Regions from separate parts of the Homo sapiens genome. Here region 2 is linked to region 1. The links are contacts of gene promoters, found by promoter capture Hi-C in blood cells and fetal thymus (Javierre and others, 2016). All regions are on one chromosome and are shown on one strand. Each heading gives the region's core, a stretch centred on a gene start or on the middle of the fragment in contact. The rest is flanking DNA. Distances are from core to core; before and after follow the strand shown. Region 1 holds the start of HYKK (hydroxylysine kinase). Region 2 has its middle 16 kb from the start of SKIC8.

What was found. Contacts are between HindIII fragments. The CHiCAGO score rates a contact against its expected background, and 5 or more counts as called.
Region 2: a fragment that was not itself captured here is called in contact with the fragment with the promoter of HYKK in region 1 in 3 of 17 cell types (megakaryocytes, M2 macrophages and M0 macrophages); the score reaches 7.5 in megakaryocytes.

Annotation. Positions count from the first base shown.
Region 1 is chr15:78,504,611-78,509,484 of GRCh38, reverse strand. HYKK (hydroxylysine kinase) reads right to left here and starts at 1,908. Exons shown (of 5, transcript NM_001013619.4): 1 at 1,814-1,908. The HindIII fragment of the contact is 14,973 bases long and covers 1-3,318 here.
Region 2 is chr15:78,313,061-78,317,728 of GRCh38, reverse strand. No RefSeq gene overlaps it. Among named protein-coding and RNA genes, the nearest start is that of SKIC8, 16 kb to the right of the region's middle. RefSeq lists a silencer at 953-1,062 and an enhancer at 1,932-1,981. The HindIII fragment of the contact is 6,688 bases long and covers 1-4,668 here.

The sequences.
Region 1 (4,874 bases), core at 659-3,158:
TGTTCCCATACAATCTTTGACTTGTTAAGCTCCTCTTAGGAGAGCGCTGTTTTCCATAGCCATGTAAAGCAAGGTTGTTAGCTCTGGCCATCCAAATAGACTGATGTAATAAAAGGCTGTGCTGGGAGAAATAGGACATATTTTAGTCCCAGTTCTGCTACCTAACCTCTGAAACTCTGGACTAGTCATGTCTCCTCTAAAACAGAGTTGGATTAGATTATTACTAAAAGTCTCCTCTAGCTCTAGTATTCCATGCCACTAAAGTTCTTTAAGTTCGCCTTTTTTCTTTATATAAGCGCTCCATATCATAGAACTAATGGCACAGATCAAGTCAACTCTTGAGAGTAAATAAAAACAAAGAAAAAAATATGTTTATCAGACATGTCTGTCTTAACCAAATGTCTCCTTTGTATGGAGGGGAATTTTTTTTTTTTTGTTTTTGAGACAAGGTCTCTGTCACCCAGTCTGGAGTACAGTGGCACAATCACTGCTTACTGCAGCTTCCAACTCCTGGGCTCAAGGGATCCTCCCACCTGAGCTTCCCAAATAGCTGGGACTGCAGGCAGGTGCCACCATGCCTGGCCTTTTTTTTTTTTTTTTTTTTGGAGAGAGAGGGTCCCACTATGTTGCCCAGGCTGGTCTCGAACTTCTGGGCTCAAGCAATCCTCCTACCTTGGTCTCCCAAAGTGCTGGGATTACAGGTGCAAGCCATCATGGCTGTCTTTTTGATTTTATTATTTTTATTTTTTTAGAGACAGTGTCTCGCTATGTTGCCCACTCACACATTTTTAAAAATTATTAACTTTTTTTCCTACTTCATTGAAAGGGAGAGGAGGAATTCAGGTACTATAGGCTGTTGGTCTATATATCCGGCCAACAGTATTTAGCTCCTGAAAAAGCCCGCAGGAAGCAAGTGTGATTTCCAACTCCAAGATCTGCGTCAGAATCTCACCACCTTTGTCCTGCAGCCGGGAGGGGGCTGGAACTTAAGCTCTGTACTTTGTGCAAAGTATACCAGACAAGAAACAGGAGTCATTCTTGATTCTTTCCTGTCCCTCACTCCCAACGTGTAACAAAGTCTAGTAAATTCTACCTTAGCATGTCTTCCAACTCTACCTTTCTTCTCCTACATTCCCTTTTGCTGCGTCCTTCCAAGGGATTATACCCAGTCAATCTCTGTATTCTCAGCCCCTAGGCTAGTCCCTTATTTAATATTAAATGGTGAACCAAGGGTGACCTTCATTCCACAGACTCACGGGGCAGTTCAACCCCAAGGGGATCATGAAACAGAAAGGTGGGGAATCTAGCATCTGCAGTTTTTCAAAGACAACAGTGCATTACTAGGTGCTTTTAAGGGTCTTCCTGGTGGGTGAAGGGGAAAAAGTGGTGGGTGAGCGGGCTGCAGAGGGGCTGCTGAACCAAGAGGCAGGAAAAGAGAGGAGGAGGGCGCATGAGTAAGTGAGGTTCAGCGGAGCTCAGAGACTGCTCCCAGTAGACACCGGCCAGGCGCCGGCACAGCCCTCGGCCAGCGACCCCACACAGACCCGGGAGGGCTGGCCTCGACAGCTTCTCGGGTGCCACGCTTTCATTCTGGGGGCCCAGCTCAGCCCTCCTAGGTTACAGGTGAGGTCCGGGAAGAAGGGTGACTTGCCCATCACGCACGCAGCGAGCTGAGGATAGCGCGGGCTGGAGGAGCCTGAGGCATAGGACTCCCGGCTCCACACTTGCAGCGAGCCTCCCTGCCCTCGGGGGCGACCCCGACTCCCGCAGCGGGGACGCAGGGCTCGTCTCTGCTTCCCCCTCCTTGGCTCACCGGCAGCGACCCGACGTCCTGGGGTGGATCCCGCTTTCCCGCAGACAGGTAGTGCGGCCTCGGCCGCGCACCGGCGCTAGGAGGTAGAGCAGGGGCCGCAGCGCCCGCGCCCCTCCTCCAAGCCCCGCGAGTCCTGACTTCTGATTGGCTCCTCCCGGTCCCTCGCCGCCCAGTCAGCGCAGACTACTGGATTTTTTTCCCGGCCCCGCCTAGGAGGCTGCGAACAGAAATTCAGAGATTCGGCTTCTGTTGACTTTCTGCAACTCCGCCCAGCCTTCTCACAGTGAGTATCCCAGTCAGAATCCGGCTACCTTTTCATGAACCGGACTCCTTATTCCTGATTGGCTCTCCGGGTTGCCGCCCCACCCCGAGTGGGCAGGCTTTCGGCTCTTGAGTGGCACCTCCGAGTTTCGCAGGGTCCACGTTGTCGTGGCGGTAACACTGACAGCTCCTCACCCGCATCCACGTTTTTGTTTCCTAGCCTTCATTCCTTCTGTTGGAGGCACGTATCCTGGAAGTGATACGCTTAGAAAGCGTGGCCCCAGAGAGACTCGCAATCCCAGCCCCAGGAACTGTAAGGGTCCTGATTGGAAGGCCTGAGTAAGGCCTGGCTGCGTTCCGCAGGAGGATGCTGGAATGTTAGAACCCGAACAGTTTAGGCAGGGCGCAGATGGCTCACGCCTGTAATCCCAGAAATTTGGGAGACCGAGGCGGGAGGATCACCTGAGGTCAGGAGTTCGAGACCAGCCTGGCCAACATGGTGAAACCCCTCTCTACTAAAAATACAAAAATTAGACTCAGGGGGTATGTCTGCAGCTGCAGAAAGATGTATGGGAACAGACACACAACTCTCCCTCCGAGATAAGCACAACAAAGAGACACAGAAGCAGTCCAAGCCTCTGATAAACTCTCCCACTCCGAATCCTTAAAAACTTACTTAGTCTGTAAGAGAGTGTGCCTCTGACCTAACTTGGCCAGACGCCCCTCTCAGGTTTTCTCTAAAATAAACCTCTTATGACCACCAAGCCACTTTTCGTGTTTCTTTCCTCTTTCTTTAATTCTTACACCGAGTAGTTGGGATTACAGGGGCCCACCACCACGCCTTTATCTAGGTAGTGGAATCAGTGGGCTCTCTTTCTGCAGGAAAGTCCGCAGAGACCCCATGATTTTCAGAAAGCTGCACGAGATTCATGGAGTAACAGCCAGGTTAGTTGGATGGTCTTAACTGTTAAGGGCATGAGGCGCTGATAAACAGCTTGATGCCCTTCTCCAGCCAAGCAGGACTTCTCCGATAAGTCAGAGCCCTCTATCTACTGTAGGCTACTGGAAGAGAGTCCTGGGTACTGGTCCACTCATGCCTGCAAATTGGTTTCTTATTTTGTTTTTGCCAATGCACATCCACCCTTTGTTTTCTGTCAGGATATAACACACTCGGATTATCTATAGTCACCCTGATTAACTTGGATGATTCCCAGACCCCTATCAACCACCTACTGAGGGAAGCTTCTTCTCCTGCTTTAGATATGGTTCTTACCTGCTTCACTTCTAATCTCCAAAAGGCAGGGCTGTTTTTCACAACCCCAGGGGAACATAATTAATATCTCATTCCTTTAGATTGTCAAAGAGTGATTTTGACTTGGATTTTTCTGTAACCAGAATTGGAATCCTATTGGCTCCCTTAGGCCCCTCTGCATGCTTTTTGCCTTGAGTGGCTTCTGAGTTATTTCCACCTGTCATTATTCCAGCTCTACTGGTCTTTCTCTACTTCTCTTGGGATGAGGGAATGGGAATTAAGATTGAATCTGGAAATTGTGAGAATTGGAGGCAGGGCTATTGGATCCACAACTGCCCTCTTTGGTATGTGCATTTCCACTCCCTGAATTCTTCTGAAATATAGTATTTGGTAGGGTGTGGTGGCTCACGCCTGTAATCCGAGCATTTGGGGAGGCCGATGGAGGTGGCTTACTTGAGTTCAGGAGTTTGAGACCCGCCTGGATAACATGGTGAAACCCCATCTCTACTAAAAAGACAAAAATTAGCCGTGCGTGGTGGCTAGCGCCTGTAATCCCAGCTCCTAGGAGGCTGAGGTAGGAGAATCGCTTGAACCTGGGAGATGGAGTTTGCAGTGAGCCGAGATCGCACCACTGCACTCCAGCCTGCATGACAGAGCAATACTGTCTCAAAAAAGAAAAAAAAAAATGTACTTTGTAAATTGCCTTTTTCACTTTAAGTGACCATTTCCTTGTTTTAAAGAATATCCTCGGCCGGGCGCGGTGGCTCACGCCTGTAATCCCAGCACTTTGGGAGGCCGAGGCAGGCGGATCACAAGGTCAGGAGATCGAGACCATCCTGGCTAACACGGTGAAACCCCGTCTGTACTAAGAATACAAAAAAATTAGCCGGGCATGGTGGCGGGCACCTAGAGTCCCAGCTACTCGGGAGGCTGAAGCAGAATGGTGTGAACCCAGGAGGCGGAGCTTACAGTGAGCCGAGATCGCGCCATTGCACTCCATCCTGGGCGACGGAGCGAGACTCCGTCTCAAAAAAAAAAAAAAATAATAATATCCTCATACATAAATCTTTCGTGCACTTTATGTGTTTAAAACTGCTCAGCATCATATTACTAGGTATAAGAGAATAAACACTTTTAAGGCCTTTTTATTTTTTGAGACAGGGTCTCACTCTGTCACTCGGGAGTGCAGTGGCGTGATCTCAGCCCACTGCAACCTCCGCCTCCTGGGGTCAAGGGATCCACCCACCTCAGCCTCCCGAGTAGCTGGGACTACAGGTGCGCATCACCACGTCCGGCTAATTTTTTGTAGAGACGGGTTTCGCCATGTTTCCCAGGCTGGTCTTGAACTCCTGGGTTAAGCAATCCTCCCACCTCAGCCTGGCAAAATGTTGGGATTAGGGGCGTGAGCCACTGCACCCGGTCTAAGCCTCTTAATACATGTTGTCAAATCATGTTTTCCTCTCAATAATACCAACATTGGATTTTAAACATTTACAACATTTACAACATTTTAAAAAGTTCCACCAATGTAAGACAAGATGCGTTGTC
Region 2 (4,668 bases), core at 1,657-4,156, 190 kb after region 1:
ACATTGCTTTCCCAAAGAGCTACTGTGGGGTCAGGGAGAAGAGGTCCAGGGTGCATAGTTATTTCATTTCATTCATTCATTCATTTCATTCATTCATTCATTCATTCATTTCATTCATTCATTCATTCATTCATTTCATTCATTCATTTCATTCATTCATTCATTCACTGAGCTCCCGTGCTGGGCTGGGTGTCAGGACTGGGGATCCAGGTCAGGCCCAGAACATATGATTCACCGAAGGAGAGGCATGGAAACAGGGATCTTCAAAATCAGGAGAGTGAAGTCACCTGGCATGGCAGTGCTCGGAGCAGCACGCTGTGAGTGTCCAGAAGAGGGCTCCCCAGGGTGCTGACATTTAGACTGGGCTGCCTTCTGGAGATGGGTGTGAGAAGAAGCAGAGGCAGATCACAGAGGGCCTCAGATGCCAGGCTGAGAAGTTGGGACTGTGCCCTGTGGCCATGGGGAGCCACAAAAGGTTGATGAGCTGCGGAGTGATGTGTTCACCTGCGTTGTAGGAGGCTCACGGGGGCAACCTCGGCACAGCTCCTGCCATTGCTGGCCCTGCACTTCACAGCTCTGTTGTGCTGCCAGCCCTGCCTGACCCTCTGAAGCAACAAAGCCTCCTATACCCAGAGGCCTCCCGGTTATCCTTGTATATTTATTCATCCATATAAACTTTAGAGCCAATCTGTCAACCCCTAAAAGTCCAGGAATGAGCAAAAGTCCCGTTTCGCCCTTCTCTTGCCCTCAGGAAACTGTACCTTGTCTCAGAGTCATTGAGGGTGTGTTTAGTTGGATCTGCACCAAATAGGGCGGTGGTGGCTATGGAATTTTATCACATCGGTTCTTGTCCTGCCCCCGCTGCTGATTCCTGAAACGACCTTAGGTGAGTGAGTCCTTGCTTTTTCAGGCCTGAGGTTCCCCACGGTAGAGTGAGGAGTTTGAATCAGCTCATCTGAGAGCGCTGCCAGCCTGTATTTACACAATGCAAATGGAGCCCCAGCCCCTAAGACCAAGCATCAGCTTTTATAGGGGAAACACCGGGCTCCGTCAAGCAGAAACCCCGCCTGACTCCCGGGGCTTTCTGGGACTCCTTCCTGACCGCCTGCCTCCTCTCAGCTGTCTCTGGTTAAGCCTGTTAGATCTGGTTCTGTCTGAAGAGATGCGCACAGGCTGCTTTCCACCCAACACCCATCCCAAGGCCTGTTCCAGGCCCCTTTTGTCCCCCAGGCAGCAGAGGCCTAGCGACAGGCCTCATTCATCTTCCCACTGAGTCCAGAGACAAAGGGCTTAATGTGTGTGCAGATGGGCCTGCCCCTCCATCATCCCTCACAACCAGTGTCCGATAATGTGCCTCCAATGAGTCTCCCGTGGCCACCCTCTGACCAGGGGGTGGCTGGGCAATGACACATGCAAACACAGGGACTGGATGACAAAGCAAGCCTTGAGGGGGCATGGCGGGGGGCAGGGCATGATCACAGCCCCACGGAGAATCCCATAAGTCATTTCTGATGGGGATACATTAGGCCTCTCAAAGAGCACTTGCCCCTGAACACTGAGCTGCCAAATTAATTGACAAGGGACCTTTACAGGCAGCTCCTAGAGAGCAGGAACCCCTGTCCCCAGAGGCCCGGCCCAAGAAGCTGTCGTTTTCTGAGAGGAAAGAATTGTGCCCTGTCTGGCCAGAGCTCAGTACCCTTCTGGGCTGAGTGAGACCCTGGCCACTGCAGAGGGTCGCATGTATGTGTGATCAAGGAAATTGGGTCCCAGAGAGAGCAGTGATGTGCTGTAAGCACACAGCACATAGGTGGTGGAGGTAAGGCTGGAACCTAGGTCTCCTGACTACTCTGCCAAGCCCTTTCCCTCCCTCTTGTGGCCAAGCCCCTGAGTGCTGCAGAGGGCTCTGACTGCCTAGTCGTAGGTCCTCCCCACCCTCGTGGCAGGGCTTCTAGGGGTCAGGGGGAGAGTCCTCAGCCCCTGTTCTCCCACAGAGCCTGAGCCTGGCCCTGGTGAAAACACTGATGACCCCCCTCCTTTTTTATTTTTTTAGAAACAGGATCTTGCCTTGTCACCCAGGCTGGAGAGCAGTGGCAAAATCATGGCTCACAGCAGCCTCAAACTCCTGCCTCAGCCTCCCAAATAGCTGGGACCACAGGTGCATACCACCATGCCTGGCTAATTTTCTTATTTTTTATAGAGACAGGGTCTTGCTATGTTGCCCAGGCTGGTGTTGAACTCCTGACCTCAAGCAATCCTTCTGCCTCAGTCTCCCAAAGTTCTGGGATTACAGACATGAGCCACTGAGCCAGCCTAAAGCCCCCTTTAAAATGCAGACACAGAGCAGGAAGAGTGGCAGAAAGGATGGAAGGAGTGCCAGCAGCCAGGAAGCCATAGCTGGCCACTCACGGAAAGCCAGAGCACAGTACTAGAGACACAGAAGGCTGTGGATGGGAGTGGGCATCTGGGGACTAGGCTCACATCCCCACTCTGCCCTGGCCCTCTTGGGGATCTTAGGTCAGCCATGTCCTTCCCTGAGACCTTACCTTTCAGCAGAATGAAAGACTCAAAACAGGAAGCAATGATCCTATCACTATTCGCTCCCGTTTATCAAGCACTCTCTGTAAGCCAAGCACTGCGCTAAGTGCTGCTGAGTCCTTGTCTTATTAATCTTCGTAACAGACCCAAGAAGAAATTGTCTTCATTTTACAGGTGAGGCTGGGCACGTGGCTCACACCTGTAACCCTAGCACTTTGGAAAGTCAAGGTGGGAGGATCGCTTTAGGCCAGAAGTCCAAGACCAGCCTGGGCAACACAGTGAGACCCTGTCTCTACAAAATAAATAAAAACTAAAATTTTTAAAAATACAGATAAGAAAACAGAGTTTCAATAGCTAAAGTTACTTTTCTTACAAGTGGCTGAGCCCAGGTTAGAACCCAACCTCGGGGCATGCTCCTGGCTTAGGGACAAGGATAAGAGGGGACCAGAGAACAGACAGAGAATTCCAGAGGCCCAGGTTCAGCCAGGAAGCGCAGGTCAAAGTGGGTCCCGAGTGGGGAGGCCCATTAGCCACCAGGCCCCTTGGCCCCTGGAGAGAGGCACAGCGCAGAGGGAAACAGCCCACCTCCCCGCAGGTCTTGCTGAAGACCCTCCATTCCCCTTCTGAATCTCTACCTCCAGCCCCTCCCACAACTGGGTCCCTTTGGCTCCTCCTGTAGGAGTAGCCTCACCCAGGTGGCCTTAATCTGGTGGTCATGGAAATTTCAACAGCCCTGGGCCCGGAGCCCAGCCTGCTCTGCCCTGCTCCCCAGAGCCCCTTTCTAGTTACATGTCCTGGAGCTAGGTCATGGGGCTGGGTCACCTCCCTTCAGCATCTAGAGACCCCGCTAGTCTGTCACCCGAGTGCATCTAATCCTGAGGCTCCCCCTCCTTCCTCTCAGAGTGGCTTTGTCCATCTCCACTCCAGGACCCGACAGGAGGAGCATAGAAAGAGCCCGTGAAGAACCCCGGACTGAGATGGCTGAGGGCTGGGGCCTCGGAGAAGGATTCCCAGGGCATTGGATGGCCACCTGGATTTGGAGATTCACAAAGGAGGGACATTGTTTGATGGGAGAGGAGGCAGATCATAAGGAGTGTGAGCATTGAGGCCAGAGAGGAGGGCCTCACGCCAGCCCACAGCCCTGAAAAGCCCATAGGATGCTGCCTGGATCTTAGAGTTGTGCACAGCAGAAGCCCCCAAGATCTGGTTGCTGAGAGTGGGGAGGTACAGGGCGGAGATCCTGTTGTGGGTTGGGTAGATATCGGAGGGTGAAGGAGTCCAGCATTGGAGCTGTCCTGGTTCGAAGATTCCTTCAGTCTTCTGCAGTCCTCCCGACCACAGCTCAGCAACAGGAGCAGGCTGGTGTTGAGGGGCGGCTGGGGCACCACACTGTGCTGCTGGGGCCCACTCTGCCTGCCCTGCATTTGGCTGTCCAGCTGTGGCTTGTACATCCCCTGGGACTGGAGGCTTATACCTCCAAGGCAGCCCCTACTCCTGTGGCATGGTTCAACCTGTGAGAAAGACCCTTCTTCCTATGAGTCCAGGTGCTTCTCTGTGGCCTGTCCCTAGAGCCTGGCCCCGTTCGAGGTCAGAGACTATATGCATTCCCTCGGACCAGCATAGCCTGACTGAGGTCTGCCCAGCAGGCCCAGCACCCACCCCGCCTCTGCCTCCCCGGTCTCTGCAGGCCAAGGATGCTGCTATTTTTTAGCCATTCCGTGGAGTATGACCTCCTCATCCCCCCGAAACACTGCCTCTCCTCTAGGACCTCAGCTCGGCAGGATCCCTGTCCTCCTGACTGAGTGCTCAGAGCGGATATTCTGCAGTCTAGGGGCCTCTATTACTTGGTTTCCCGTTCCCCACTGATTTGGCAGGAGCCTGGAATTGAAGTCCGTGGAGGATCTGGGTCAGTTTCTTTACATCTAGAGCTTTGCTCAGAGAATAACTCAGTTCTTCAGGCACAAGACACCCCCAATAGCAGTTACCCCCTACACCAATGTGATGAGTTCCCACAGACACCCCAGCCCACCCAGCACAGGCCCCTCACTGACCTCCCAGCCTCCAACAGGTCCCCTGGTTCCTGGCCTTCTCCCGACGGCTGCAAAAGGCTCTTTGGAGTGTCCCTATTCCACA